Linked DNA regions of Homo sapiens: all the other regions are linked to region 3. Evidence: promoter capture Hi-C in 16 types of primary human blood cells and fetal thymus (Javierre and others, 2016). All regions are on one chromosome and are shown on one strand. The core of a region is centred on a gene start or on the middle of the fragment in contact, and the rest is flanking DNA. Distances in the headings are between cores, read along the strand shown.

Region 1 (3,109 bases), core at 183-2,682, 290 kb before region 3:
GTCCTGGCTGGGAGCAGTCCATGCCTACCTCCTTTCCACCCTGCCTCCCCCAGTCCCCAAGCCCACCCAATTGCTTCTCTTTCCCAGTCCTGTTTCCCTTCACCCACTGATGCCCACTGACCCGTCAGGATGAGGAATCCAGATGCCATCAAGTCCCAAGCTACATCAGGGTGATCAGAGACGGAGACTGCAAGGGCCTCTTCTGGAATGTTGTCCCCTTTTCCTTCCTGCACAGTCTCCAGCGGAGGTGTTGGAGTGTCAGACAGGGGGCCTTCTGGGCCTGTGTGTCCTGCACAGACACAGACAGAAACATGGGACTGAAGTTAAGATGGTTCTGGTTGTTCTGCTCCCAGCCTAACCCTGCTCCTCCTCCTGCCCCCTCCCATAGGCCCGACCTGCTTTGGCCCTTGCCCCATGAGCCTCACTCCGTGTCATCTCACCTGCCATACACAGCAGGCCTGGCCCCTCCAGCTCTCTCTCTCCGGCCCCCTCTTCTGTAGGCCCACAGGCTTCAGAGAGCTGAGGCTCTTTCTCGCCTGCTGTTTTGAGCTCTTTTGGCTCAGATTCTGGCTTCCCTGAGCCTTCATATTCCTCCTTAACCAGGTGGCATTCTGGAAGCTTGTGCTCACTTGGTGAGGGCAGATTGCCAAGGGCTTCTTGGTGGCTGGCATCTTCCTTGTCCCCAGGGCTCAGTGGGGCACTGTCCCCTCCTCGGCTAAGAGCCCCTCGACCTGCAGCTCGCTTCTTTCTTCTGTTTCCTTTGCCTGTTCTCCGAGGGGTACCAGGTGGTCCTTCAGCCCCCTGGCCTCCTCCTCCTCCTCCTCTAAGCTCCCCTGGCCTCAGGGGGCAAGATCCGGAGGCTTCTCCCACAGCCTCTGCTGGGGGCTCAGACACCTCCAAGACTGCTGCCTCTGGGACAGCCTCAGCTCCTGGGGGAGACTCAGGGGAGGCTCCGGTGCTGCTCCCCTCGCCGGGTGGGCGTGCTCCATCCTGGCCCCGAGGCCCCAGGCCCTTCTGGTGCATCCACGCCCGGTGTCTCCGGTGGCGGCCCTTCCCTCCAGCGCCCTTGCGGGTGGGTACCGTCCGGACTCTGGAGAGGCCTGGGGAGCCTTCAGCATCTGTTGGGCTCCCCCTCACGGGCAGCGTCACCTCTAACAGCTCCACATACTCGCCCTCAGGTCCTTCCACAGGGGCATTGTGCCCATCCCCAGGACTCCGGGTACCCAGCGCCTCCTCAGGAAGTGGAGGGCTGGGAAGCCCTGGAGGTCCAGAGGGCAGTTCTGGGGGCAGTGTACTTGGCTGATGTCCAACCATGAGGCCCTCTTTGTGCACAAATCGTGGACAGATGAGCTCAGCCCAGGGCAGCCGCTGAATCCCAGAGGGCGCAGACAGTAGGCAGGTACTGAGGCGACCTGTTGGCCGGTCCTTGTTGATGCCTTGTAGCCACTCAGGTGTGAATAGGTAGGCACAAGCCTCATTGGGCACAGGAACCTCCTGCACCCGCCCACCCCCAGGGGCCAGACACTTGAGTGCTAGTCGGGGTGCTTGGGCAGCTGAGGGCACCACCTGCAGATAGAAGTCTCCTGGGCGCAGCAGTTGCCAGGGTAGGGCTGCTAGCTGCACCACCACCTGTTCATGCAGGCAGAGCGGCCACCCCTCATGGAAGAAGAGGAATCCACTGTATTGGGCCTGGGGAGAGAGGTGGGAGGCTGCACTCAGGCCTCTGCTGAAGAAACCAGCAGGAGAGGGCAGTTAGAATGGGCCCACCCTAGGCAGGACCAGCCTTATGCCTGGAAGGTTATACTCTCAGGAGAGCAGGAGGGGAGATTTGGGGTATTCAGGTGGCAGAGAGGAAGGGATTGGGACTGATCGGTCTCCCAGTAGTAGGAAGATTCTTCAGGAAGCTAGTTCCATGTGTGGGAGGGTAAGAACTGAATCGTTACCAAGACATGGTCAGCAGATGCCATTGTCTTGGAGAAGCTAAAGACTCTTAGGAGTCTTTATATCTGTAGAAATGAATGATCTCTGTTGACTAATGTACGGGGGAGTTAGTGTCTTGAGAAATTCATATGAGGGGGAGAAGATGTCTGGAATTGGGTCTGGAGAGTTAGGGTCTTTGGGGGTCAGTATTGGGGTCAAGATGAATTTGGGGAAGATGAATGTGTGTGTGTGTGTGTGTGTTAGCATCTGAATGGTCAGTGCCTGTGAAGGTCAAAGTTTGTGAGAGGTCAGAGAATGAAGCTTAAGTGATTCTGGAGAGATCGGTTTCAAGGGAGGCTGTATCTCTAGGTTAGTGGGGGCATTAGTCAGCCTGGCTAGTCTGTAGAGTGTGGCAGTGGATCTTGGGGAAGGCAGAATAGTGATGCACGGCCACTCACACAGGCTTCCTGCTGGACCTTGGCAAGCAGGTGCTTGGCTGGTACCAGGAAGTCCAGCGTGTACCTCAGTGCGTCCTCCCGATAAGTCCTCTCCACCACCTGGAACACCTGGCCCAACAGGGTGGGGGCTGTTGCCTCAAAGGGTGGATACAGGGCGGCGAGAGTGCTCTGCACACAGTCCTCCACTGGCTCAGGCTCCTGTAGAGATAGGACCAGGCTACAGATCCCTAGAGATCACCCAATCATGGCTCCTTGGGAGCTGCACTGGTCTGGGGTTGGCTGTGTTCTCCAAAGCCCCGATTGTACAATGTGGGCAAAAAGTGAGCACTCAGGAAATGCTGGCTGATGAGCCCAGAACAGGAGTGGGGCTGGGCCAGAGTGCACAAACCTGGCAGGGCGCTCAACACTCCCGCTCTGAGACCTTGGCTTTGGAGATCCAGGGAGAATTTGTTGTGAATGCCCCTGATCAGGGCTGTTCCGGGTGCTCGTGAGTTGGGGTGATTGCATAGATCTTTCCCAGGAGAGAAAAGACAGGCTTCTGGGCTATCAGGGGACTGAGCTTATGGCTGAGAACTCGAGGGGATGAGGGAGATTTCCACACAGCCATCCTGCAAATCCCTTCCCATAAGACCCACCATCCAGGGCTCCCCATCTTAGGTGGAGGTGCCATCACCCACAATTATGTCCCAGAGATGATCATTTGGTGAAAGAGAGATGCTCATTTATATGCT
Region 2 (3,099 bases), core at 50-2,549, 270 kb before region 3:
AACTTCCCTTAAGTAATCTTAACAGAAATTCTCCAAAGCCCCCTTTTACTTCTCCTTCAACTCAAAGTACCCATCCATTCCTCCCAAATAACCTTATCTACAGAAACTAATACATATTGTCCTTTTTGTCTGACCTTGAACCTTCCCTTATCTACTCTTGGCTAGGAGCTTTTTGGCAAGAGGCGGATGAGGAGGAGTTTGGCCTCCCTTGTTTAAATCCTTTGTTCTTCTGTCACGGAAGTCAGGCCTGCTCCATTCATCACAGGTTTGACCACTCAACATTTGACACCACAATGATAAATAGAAATGCTAACACCATTCAAACTTTCCCTACATGCTAGTCACTGTACTAAGTGCTTTATATGTATTGTTACTTTTAATCCACATTATACTCTTGTGAAGTGGTAGTGAAGATCCATGTCCCTGAAGGTATTCAAGCCCAAAAACCATCTGTTGGTAACATTATTGCCAGGCGCATTGGCTCACACCTGTAATCTCAGCAGTTTTGGGAGGCTGAGGAGAGTAGATCACCTGAGCTCAGGAGTTTGAGATCAGCTTATATAGATGGGGAAACTCCCACCTCCCTAAGCTAAGAGGCGTTCTATCACAGTGTGTATTTTCATCACGAGCACACATTTTTATTTACCTTTCCTCTTATGAACTGTGGACTTCTTACAAGATCTCATTAGCAATGTGGGCTTTCTCATGTCCCTGTGGCTCCGTGGATGTTCCCAAGCTTACTGGTTTTGGAGTCTTGCACAGGTAAGCATCCTGATAAGAGCTATAACTGCTCTTCTTTTTGCCCATTCATGGTGGGGTGGGGGTAGGGGGAGGACATTAGAATGAAGCTCTGAAGTCTTTGAAGCACTTTTGGAAGCCCAGTTGTGCAGGTGCATGGAAGAAATGTGATGAAATGAGTTGAAGCTCTCCCAAGGAGAAGAGAAGGCCCCCTGGATGTTGTTGCTACTGGTATGTTTTTTGGTGCCATAGCTCAAGGGTTATCCCCCAGAGCCCCAGACACTATGAAGAGGGCCAAAGGGTCCTGATCTTAAGGGCAGGGTGTAGGCAGAGGAAATCCCTGGAGCTGAGGATCCTTCTCTTCACAGTGATTCTGTTGGCCCTCTTCATGGTGTCTAGGGCTCATTTACTTCAGTGTGTGGAGACTTCTGGGAACCAGAGTCATGTAGAAAAGTCTCCTCCCCAGTCTACCTCAGATAGTCTCCCTTCTAGGAGAGCCAGCTCATCTAGCTCCAGTTCTTGGTTTACTTTCTTTACTGAACTCCATTTCCGCTCCTTTACTCCATGTTGAAACAATTTAAGTCCATCTGCACAAGACTGGGCAAAGCTCCCCTGGACACCATCCTCCTCTCTCCAAGCTCCCAGCCCTAGAAACATAAATATCTCATAATTAAGCATTCTCCTTTTCCCATTCTTCAGCTTTCAAGTAGGAATGCATCACAGTTCAGCCAGCCTTGGTATTTGGCCCAAATTATTATCTTCTTGTATCTCAGCTTTGGCTTTTGGAAGGCTGAATAGTCAAATTCCTATTTCATCACTATTCCTGGCATCCTTTAACTTGGCTGTGATCAAGGTCACACGAAGGATTGAGTGACAAATCTATTCAGGTAGGGCACCACTAATAAGAATAGGCCAGGCCATTTGGATTTATTGTTAATATCTGAATAGTTACTTCCAAATATTGGTGAGTACTCTAGATGTAACCTGGAGTGAAATTTTCCTTGTGAGCTTAAAAAAAAATTATTATATTGAAATTCTACCAGCCAGTGGAAGTATAAATGGGTATTTATTATTATTTATTATTTTTAAGAAAGATGCTATTATTAATTGTTGTGAAAGCTTATATATGAAACAATTATTTAAAATTTCCACATGGTTAAAAAATAGGAAATTAGTTGACCGATAATATAAATAATAGAAGAGAGTGTGTTAGCTAGATAACTTTAGGGAGAACCTTATGTCCCTTGATCAACAATGATTTGAACTGTGCAAGTCCACTTACATTCAAATTTTCATCTGCTTCTGCCATCCCTGAGACAGCAAGACCAACCCCTCCTCTTCCTTCTCCTCCTCAGCCTCCTTAACGTGAAGACAATGAGGATGAAGACTTTTATGATGAGCCACTTCCACTAAACGAATAGTAAATATTTTTTTCTTCCTTATGATTTTCTTAATGACACCTTTTTTTTCTCTAGCTTACTTTATTGTAGGAATATGGTACATAATACATATAGCATACAAAATATATGTTAACTGAACGTTTATGTTATTGGTAAGGCTTCAGGTGATCAATAGGCTATTAGTAGTTAAGTTTTGGGGGAGTCAAAGGTTATACTTGGATTTTCGACTGTACACTAGGCACCCTTAACCTCCATGTTGTTCAAAAGCCAACTGTACTTTCTGAGACCAAGGTATGTATGTATGTATGTATGTATGTATGTATGTATGTATGTATGTATGTATTTGTTTTGAGACAGGCTCTCATTCTGTTACTCAGGCTGGAGTGCAGTGGTGCCCAGGCTGGAGTGCAGATCATGGCTCACTGCAGCCTCAACCTTCTGGGCTCAAGAGATCCGCCACCTCAGCCTCTGGAGTAGCAGGGACTACAGGCATGTGTCATCATACCCAGCTAATTGTATTTTTTGTAGATATGGGGTTTCACTATGTTGCCCAGACTGGTCTCAAACTCCTGGGCTCAAGTAAGCTGCTCTGGTTAGGCCTCCCAAAGTGCTGGGATTACAAGTGAGAGCCACTGTGCCTGGCTGAGCCCAATGTATTTACAACAATTTAATAAACACCACAAGTAGTATTTAATTTAACAAATAGTACAGAACAGAACAATAGAAATTAGATTATATCATAATTCTATCTATGATTTAATTACTCTTTTTAGAATTGATTGGTGTATTATGATTTATTATGTAAATAAAATAATCCCTTAAGAAGTATACATATTTGAAAGACTTTTTTGAAAATGAGATATAACTTACATAAAATACACAAATCTTTTTTTCTTATTTATTTTTATGACCACCTGCTGCCTTTTGAAACAAATCTTAAGTATACAGTTCAATGAGCTTT
Region 3 (3,232 bases), core at 231-2,730:
TTGCCAGTGACAGAATCTATGTGTGAGTTATCATCAACTGTCTTTGAGGTATCAGTACTACCTCCAATTAAGCATAGACAATGGTTTCCAGGGGAATATATAAAGTCATGAGCAGAGTTTGAAGAAATGCTCCAAAGTCCCAAACGCTGTCCTTTCTTGTGGGCAAGGAAGTGGGGCCCCAGGGAGGCCTCAAAAGTTTTCTAGGGACTTAAAGTCAAAACAGTGTTCCTCTGAGTACCGGTCAACAATGCTTTGAAAGCGGATCTCAAACACACACTCATTAGAATGCAGCAGGAAGTGGTTTTATTGCTGTGAACACAGGGCAATAAAGCTTGGCAAAAGTTGCAGGGTTAGAAATCTGAATCTTTCTTTGCTGTCTTCCCTATTCCCTTCTCTCGAAAAGTACAGAACTACAAAGCAGAAAATAATCTTATTTCTTTTTGTCTCAACTCTGGTCTGGCATCCTAGGCACTCGAATTCTCCAAACACCTTTCTTCTTTCTTCTACGGGAACAAGAAAATCAACAAAAGAAAAGAAAACATGGATGCAATTGTAACAGAAGCTATGTCAAATGAAAGGAAATGCAGTGGATGCCTTAGAGAATACTATCTAAGTGTACAGGAACCAACTTGTAGGGGGGATCGCTCTTCTGAGGGGGGTCACAGGCAACAATGAAGAATTTGTACTGGGCAGCAGCACTATAGCGGCACTGGGGATACTTTCCTGAAGTGAGTCTGCAGTCAGTCATGTTGACAGGCTTTGAGCTCTGGTGGCAGTTGTGCCGACGATTTTTGCAGACAATGCTGAGCAAATCACAGACAGCAGCCACATTCTGGAAAGAGTCATGCAGAAAGGTATTTTGATGCTTACAGTGCTGGGTATAATTGTTGATGCCACTCATTGCCCTGTTGCATTGGAGAGGACTTGGCTGTATATGCTGAATTTCAAACCAGTGAGCCTTGGTGAGACGCTTAGGCCAAGCATGAAGTGGACACACTGGTCCCCATAGAACCAGCAGCAGTAAAAGAAGAGGAAAGCATAGCACCATCTTTTCTGTGTAGAAAGAGAGAAGATAGTTATAGTAGGAGAAGCAATAAGAGCAAAATTTTTAATCATAACTATTTAGATTTTTATTTTGCCTTTTAAGATTTTACAGCTCCCTTTAAAATCTTCTTTCTCACATAGTCTCACAATTCTATGAAGAACCTGAAGCCCAGGAAACAGAAATATGACCTCTCCTTTGATTGGCATATCCCATTTTCTTTCACAAGTACTCATGCATTTGATGGCTGTCATATCAGAAAGTTTCTTCCCTCTTCCCTCCTGAAATATTTACCCTCTATCTGACCACTACCTCCCAGCCGTCTTTACTGCTCTACTCGCTCCAGCCCTGAGGCTTTCTTTCTTACCTGGTCTCAGTGTTGGGGCTCCTGCTGAGAACAGAGGCTGTGATTAGTCCAAAGCTCAGAAGCTGTTGTCTGCCTTTCTTCTCTAACCCTTCGAGCCCTGTGTGTATAGGGAAGGGGAAGAAATATTCTGAGCTTTCAGAAGGAGAATCCTAGGGTTTGGCAGATTAACTTCTTGTGCAGAGTCTGGATTAAACTCTTAGACTTTCACACCTGTTCTTTAAAACAGTATCATTATCACATGTATACAGGAAGGCTAAACCAACTTAAAGAAACAACATGACTGAAAACTCACAGTTTTGAGGAACTGATCACTTCCTGATATGGAATGAGTGCTTCCTGCCTCATCTGAGGCTTCAGTGTTTTTTTTTGAAGCTTTATGATTCCTGTTTCTTAAGAGAAAATATGTCACATAAATATGATATAATGCCTGCCACATACTTGGTAATGTTGTAAGTTCCTACAACAGAAGTGAATACATTATTCATTTATGCATATACTTATTGGGCCAGGTACTAGGCTACACAAATTCAGGAGCTCATGAGTTTTTTTTTTTTTTTTTTTTGAGACGGAGTCTTGCTCTGTCGCCCAGGCTGGAGTGCAGTGGTGCGATCTTTGCTCACTGCAAGCTCCACCTCCTGGGTTCATGCCATTCTCCTGCCTCAGCCTCCCGAGTAGCTGGGACTACAGGTGCCTGCCATCACGCCCAGCTAATTTTTTTGTATTTTTAGTAGAGACGGGGTTTCACTGTGTTAGCCAGGATGGTCTCTATCTCCTGACCTCGTGATCTGCCAGGAGCTCATGATTTAATGAAAGAGATTAGAGACAGGCAGGTAAGTATATAGACAAGTAGATTATATTAATATAAATAGCACTTACAGTGTGATGGAGGACACTGCAGGAGGCTACGGGAAGATAGTAGAGGGGAAGGATTGTTGGAGGGCACAACACCTGAACTGAATTTTGAGGAATAATTAGAAGTTAGGTGAAGAGAGTGTTAAGCGCCTCCCAAAGACAGAATTGTGTATGAAAAGACCTGTAAGCCTGAAGAAGAAGGCCGAATTTAGGATATTTGCCTCTTGAATCTGTTCTTACCTTTTCACTGGTACTGCAACACCCTTATTCAGAAACTCATTGTCTTATGGAGGGCTCACATAAAAGCCTCCCACATGGACTCCTTGCCTTGTTTTTTTCTCCTTCCAATCCATTCTACATATTACTTCCAGATTAGTCTTTTTTTGAACAAGATATAATAGTACAACACTCTTGCCCCATGCTTTTATGGCTCCAAATGTCTGCAGAATAAACATAATGTCTGTTTATAGCAAGGTTGCAGGATACAAGGTTAATATACAAAAGTCAGTTGCTTTCTTATATACCAGCAATGAACAATTGCAATTTGATATTTAAAACACAATACCATTTATATTGCACCAAAGAAAGTGAAATACTTAGGTGTAAATCTAATACATTATGTAAAAATTGGTATGAGGAAAAATTTAAAACTCTAATGAAAGAAATTGAGGAAGCACAGATATTCCATGTACATGAGTAGGAATACTCAATATGTTAAGATGTCATTTCCTCTCAACTTGATCTATAGATTCAGCACAATCTCAATCAATATCCCAGCACATTATTTTGTGGATAGTGACAAACTGACTCTGAAGTTTATATAAAAGTAAAAGATTCAGGTTGGACACGGTGGCTCACGCCTGTAATCCCAGCACTTTGGGAGGCCGAGGCAGGCTGATCACGAGGTCAAGAGATCAAGACCATCCTGGCTAACACAGTGAAACCCCGTTTCTACTAAAAATACAAAAAAT

The links. Contacts are between HindIII fragments. The CHiCAGO score rates a contact against its expected background, and 5 or more counts as called.
Region 1: a fragment that was not itself captured here is called in contact with the fragment with the promoter of RNASE6 in region 3 in 2 of 17 cell types (monocytes and M1 macrophages); the score reaches 5.4 in monocytes.
Region 2: a contact is called between a fragment that was not itself captured here and the fragment with the promoter of RNASE6 in region 3, in 1 of 17 cell types (M0 macrophages). The highest score is 5.2, in M0 macrophages.

What each region holds. Positions count from the first base shown.
Region 1 is chr14:21,072,512-21,075,620 of GRCh38, reverse strand. It overlaps ARHGEF40 (Rho guanine nucleotide exchange factor 40), which reads right to left. Exons shown (of 24, transcript NM_018071.5): 2 at 2,379-2,576; 3 at 441-1,689; 4 at 122-289. Among named protein-coding and RNA genes, the nearest start is that of ARHGEF40, 3.8 kb to the right of the region's middle. The HindIII fragment of the contact is 1,623 bases long and covers 621-2,243 here.
Region 2 is chr14:21,045,925-21,049,023 of GRCh38, reverse strand. It overlaps LOC105370398 (a long non-coding RNA gene), which reads left to right and starts at 329. Exons shown (of 4, transcript XR_943588.3): 1 at 329-762; 2 at 878-969; 3 at 2,094-2,158; 4 at 2,516-2,627. It also overlaps a transcript of NDRG2 not described here. The HindIII fragment of the contact is 1,121 bases long and covers 739-1,859 here.
Region 3 is chr14:20,779,516-20,782,747 of GRCh38, reverse strand. It overlaps RNASE6 (ribonuclease A family member 6), which reads right to left and starts at 1,480. Exons shown (of 2, transcript NM_005615.5): 1 at 1,410-1,480; 2 at 281-1,053. The coding sequence starts at 1,048. The coding sequence ends at 596. All of the region lies in intron 1 of LOC107984671 (a long non-coding RNA gene), which reads left to right. RefSeq lists an enhancer at 336-405. The HindIII fragment of the contact is 1,450 bases long and covers 334-1,783 here.